Regions from separate parts of the Homo sapiens genome. Here region 1 is linked to region 2. The links are contacts of gene promoters, found by promoter capture Hi-C in human tissues and cell types (Jung and others, 2019). All regions are on one chromosome and are shown on one strand. The core of a region is centred on a gene start or on the middle of the fragment in contact, and the rest is flanking DNA. Distances in the headings are between cores, read along the strand shown.

The links. The method cuts DNA at HindIII sites, captures the fragments that hold promoters and counts their contacts. A contact is called where the count stands out against the background at its distance.
Region 1: a contact is called between a fragment that was not itself captured here and the fragment with the promoter of ARHGAP18 in region 2, in 2 of the 25 tissues and cell types used here (IMR-90 fibroblasts and aorta).

What each region holds. Positions count from the first base shown.
Region 1 is chr6:129,988,617-129,991,316 of GRCh38, forward strand. No RefSeq gene overlaps it. Among named protein-coding and RNA genes, the nearest start is that of L3MBTL3, 29 kb to the right of the region's middle. The HindIII fragment of the contact is 7,110 bases long and covers 1-2,700 here.
Region 2 is chr6:129,708,791-129,711,490 of GRCh38, forward strand. It overlaps ARHGAP18 (Rho GTPase activating protein 18), which reads right to left and starts at 1,387. Exons shown (of 15, transcript NM_033515.3): 1 at 1,234-1,387. The coding sequence starts at 1,346. RefSeq lists a silencer at 1,661-1,740. The HindIII fragment of the contact is 16,000 bases long and covers 1-2,700 here.

The sequences.
Region 1 (2,700 bases), core at 28-2,527, 280 kb after region 2:
CTAGGTTCTATGCCAGCTCTAACAAGACTAATGTCATATTGGACAAGCAAGTTAACAAACAATAATTTTTGTATCTATAAAACAAGACATCTGAACTACGATTCCTTTCAATTCTAAAACCTTATATACTAAAAAATGTCTAAAGTCCCTTCCTAATTTTCAGTCATTCACTATATATATTCTTTCTTTCACTAATTTTGAATGTGCATTGTTAACCAATTACAGATCTGTAAGTCTATAATTGGTTAATAATGCAGATCTATAAAGATAATTCTTTATAGATCTATAATGTAGATCTATAAAGAGAGTTCCAAATTATCTCAAACAAAAAATTTCAATTCATTCATTCACTCATTAAACTCATTGATTGGCATCACCTATGTATTATATAAGTAACTATGCTAGGTTCTAGACATCAACACAAACTTCACCCCTGACATCATGGAATTTATTAGGTGTAGGGGGTAGGAAAGAATATTTCTGATTTGGTAGGAAAATAAAGAATTCAGTTTTGGTAGGTTAAGTTTGAGATGCCTGAGACACATCCCAGTGGAACTGGCACGTAAAATAAATTAGGGAGGCATCACCTGTTAGACAATAGTTTTTAAAACCATGAGACTGAATATGGTCAACTTGAGAGAGTGAGTACAGTGAGAAGGAAAGAGACAAAAGGTCTAAGTTTTCATGAAAATTAAGATTTAGAGGTTAGGCATAGGAAGAGGAGCTAACAACACTGAGATTGCTACACAGAGCATAAAATAAAAATCCTAAGTGTGTAGTCTATCAAGTATATCAAAAAAAGGGAATGGTCCAGTGTATCTAATTAAATTTTTAAAATCCCTTGGATTTGAAAAAAACTAACGTCATTGATGCACTTGGCAAATGCAGTTTAGTGTGCTGGTTGAAGCAGAGACAAGGTTGGAGTGGATTGAGTAGGAATGGAGGGTGAAAGCCTAGAGACTGTGCAGATAATCATACAGAGGAAATCTGTGGTAGAGGGAAGGAAATATAGGTTTGACAGGTTTGTTCTTGTTGTTGTTTCCTTTTTACTGTGATTGTTTCATTTTTATTTTTTGTTTAAGGTGAGTGATATTAGGACTGAAGGGATGTTGAAGATGAGCAAGAGAGAGGAAGAGAATGGATGGAGAGGACTCTTAGAAGGCAGGAGCACTGGCTCTCAAAGCAGAACGGAAGGATTGGCCTTTGACATTTGAAAGGGCCTAAAAGCAGTGGAGGGGACATGATGAAGCTAAGTTGCTAAGGATGGAGAAAGAAAGAAGAGGTAGCATGTCAGAGAGTTTAGGAGCTGGAACCAGGCTGGAATCCAACTTCTTCCATTTATTGTAAGTGTGGTCAAGTTATGCTCTTTCTAGACTTCAAGTTCTTCACCTATAAAATGCAGGGAAAGTATCACCTATGTTATAGATTTGTCATGTGAATTTTTAAATGAGTTAATATTTATAAGAGCACTTAAACCATGTCCAACACATACCAAGTGTCATAGAGGTGGTATCTATTATATCAGTGTGTTTTGATAAATAGGGTCCTGTTTGATGGCTTCTATTTTCTCCAAGAAATGAGATGAAGATGAAAAAATTGTCAACCTTTCTAAAATGTAAAATCATGTATAAGTAAACAATGAGAAAAAAAAATTTCCATTAAATTGCTGAAGGTTTAAAAACTGTAATACCCAGTATTGGTGATGGTGGGGTGTATCAGGCCTCTTTCTCCATGGCTGGTGAAAGCATAAATGTGTACATCCCCTGCCCTACAAAAGGCAATTTGGTAATATAGATCACAAGATTTTACCAACCTGTAAAACAGAGGTCCTCAGAGGAGGGGTGTGTATGGTAAAGAGAAGTGGAAAGTCTGGCCTGAGAAAGCAAGTCAGTTATATTCAACTCCATGCCCAGCTCCCTGATTGGTGACACTCTCAAGTCCTCCCCATGGTTCCTGTTAACTCCCAGGTTTATGCTCGATGGTGTAATTGGCCTCAGGCTGTATGCTGTTTTTGTTTCTCTGTGTAACAGTTCATCTTCTTCACAAGTCTCCAATAGAAATCCACTCACAGGGAGGGGGCCGCATCCTGCATCCTTGAAGCACACATTTTTATGTCTTATTTCCCTGCCTTATTTTCCCCCAATTGCCTCTGGGGGTTCAAAATTCTGTGTTGCGCAGAGCATTTTAGCTCTTTCAAATTTCGTATTCCAGAGTTGATACCAAACCCTTCAAGGTACCCAGGAGAGTACTCTAATACCTGCTGTTCTTAGAAGGGTTATCAATGGCAAAATTTTACTACTGCCTCGGCAATTCCACTTCCAGAACTTATCTCAAGATATCAAATACTCATTTTAGTATTATAACTGCCAAAACATTGTACATTTAAATACTTAACAAAAGGGATTAATAAATCATGATATGTGTTACATGGTAGAATGTTACCGGACTACTAAAATATGATTTTGGAAAGCATTTAATATGGGGAATTTTTTGCAATGCTTAAAAAAAATACACTGAGGTACAAAGAATAAAACAACCAAAAAAGTGTATGCCCTAATCTCCTTTCTCTAAAACATTTAAAAAAAGAGTAATAACACATGTATACGGTGAAAACATTTAGACAGTGTAGAAAGTTACAAAATGGAGGCCGGGCGCGGTGGCTCACGGCTGTAATCCCAGCACTTTGGGAGGCCAAGGCGG
Region 2 (2,700 bases), core at 137-2,636:
AAAATGGATGAAAACACTTCAAGATCTCTTGATTTAATGATTTAACATTAAGTCATTTAAAATGATGGAAAATGAAATGGTAACACAGCTAAGGCACAAGCACCAAATCTTTTTTATCTTTGGAAATGAATTCATTCAATGAAATACATACTGTGGATGCTATGTGAGAAACAGTTCCCGTCAGCTGGGAGTCTAACACTGAGTATTACAGCCATTCCTTTGATTTTTCTCCCTCCCTCATATTTGGAGATTTTAAAACAAATGAAAGGCAGCATTATTTCAGCTTAAGGCACAGGCATAAGTCACATAAGAACAAAGAAGGTTTTATTATCACATTAAGCATTGAGGAGGAAATGTGCTTACCGATAACTAATTTAGTGTTCTAGGCTATTAGGTTAGTATTTGCTTCTTGCAATCTTCTAGGCCAATATTTACTATTTATATCTTGATGGAGGTAAAAATGTTCAGCTAGTGAGAAGGTCATTAAGGAGAGAAAGAAAAAAAAAAGCCCTTGGAAAATGGAACAAAGTACACAGATAGGGAGAAAGGTACCCTTTGCGCCTCAGTGGTCTATAGAACATTTGCCCTCTCTGCCTATAAAGTGATTTAACATTAACCACATTTCACTCCAGCAGCAGAGTGCTATCTCCTGACAAAAACTCCTTTTTGAAAGCCTGGGGGAAAAAAAATCCACATACACAAAAGAATGTGAAACATATTGCCACAGGCCAGTGTCTTGGGCTTTTTGCCTAAGAGGTTTGCTTTCAGCAAAGAGAGGGGGGAAAAAAAACACTCTAACAACAACAGCTTGTACAGTACAGTGAACAGCCTCCCTGCTTTTTGGCAGACTTTCCCAGCGAACAGTTCCAGTGGCAGTGCCTTGAGCCCATTCAAGAATTCCATTTCATAGGAAAGGAAGTGTTTCAGATAGACCTATTTGATCTTTCAGCATGTGCAAATGCACCTGCTAAATAGCTAGTCTGACAGCCCATATAGCCCTCTCCCCAGTTCCTTCTTCTCTGTCTTCACCAGTAATCATATGGGTTATTTCAGACTTGGACTAGGTGAGATGAAAAGTACATAAAAATCACGCCAAACGTTGCTACTGCTGCTGCACGAGCTCAGGCTCGACGTGCAGATGGAATTCCCTTCTCCCCACGCCAACTTCCCTGTCACTTTCTTCCTGGAGCAGGTAAGAGGGTTTTGTTTTGTTTTCAGCTTCCGAAGGCTTACCTCGAGGTGGCTTCCTCCCCTGCCTTTGCATGGCTGTTCCCGACGGTCTGGTCCTTGCCGCTGGGGTGGTAGGCTGTTAGTACCACTCCCTGGGAACTGGAGAGCCAGCTCATGGTGAGAGAAGGGACATACTTTCTGCGATCCTGACACAGAGAAGGGGAAAGAAGTTCCTGTCTCGCCTGGCAACTCGCTCATTAGCATTGGCCAGCTCCTCCCCGCAGGCTGGCGATTCACACGGGGAGGGGCGGGGTCTGTCCAGGGAAGGGCTTCCTGCCTCTCCAATTAGAAGCTGCAACTCACAGCATGGTTTCAACTCTGGACAATTGCACTCTGGGCGGCTTTGGTTAAAGGAGGCGAAGGGTGGAAGCGACGGGTTGCACCCACCCCCAAGTTAGTCTGATCAGATTAAACTGCCAGAACGTATATTCAACTCATCACTGTAACTACAAGCCGTCTTACTTAGGAAACCATGAGTTGCTGCCAAGGCTTTTTTTTTTCCCTCCCCAATTCCTCTATCTTATAATTTCTGCTACTTAATGTAACATGAGTAAAGGCATTTCTTAACCCCTTCATGTTCAGCGTTAAAATTAGCCATAGTAAAAAACAACGAACCCGCGGCAAAACTCTGCAATCCAGACGACGAGAAAGGCTTGATCCTTGTGTCCGGTTAAAAATGCCCTCATAAAAATTGTGTGTCCTGGAATGTCGTCGTCTTTCACATAAAGCCAATCTCAAATATACGTCTTGTTTTAGCAAAATATTTTTCAGCACCAAAAAGGGATAGACCTACCAATGCTCTGTTAAGTGTTATTGCTGAGAACAAGAGAAGTCCCTGCCATTTGTTGAGCACCTACTATATGCCAAGCTCTCATGGACGGGGGTTTCACATGTATTATCTCATTCCATTCAATTCTCTCTCTCTCACACACACACACACACCGTACAAGATAGGTATCACTATCATCTGTGTTATACATAACACAAGGAAAGTAAGGCTGAGGGACGAGTTAAGTAACTTCACTAAGATAACACAGTTGCTAGTGCCAGAAGCTGGATTTGAACAGAATTCTAGGCTACATTCCTTTTATTTTTCACCAGTATGCTCTTCTTTGTTTTGCAGATTAAGAAACAAGATCAAAATTATCATAAACACAAAAGACAGCTCTGTTCTTTCTCCCCATCTCCCCTCCAAAAAAAAAAATCACTTTTTTGGTTTGTTTTTGAATCAGGGTCTCACTCTGTCACCCAGGCTGGAGTACAGTGGTGATTGTAACTCACTGCAGCCTCAACCTCCCAGGCTCAAGAAATCCTCCAGCCTCAGCCTCCCCAATAGCTAAGACCACAGGCATGCACTACCACGCCCAGCTAATTTTTTTATGCTTTGTGGAGAGGGAGGGTCTCACTGTGTTGCCCAGGCTGGTCTTGAACTCCTGGGCTCAAGCAATCCTCTTGGCTCAAGCTCCCAAA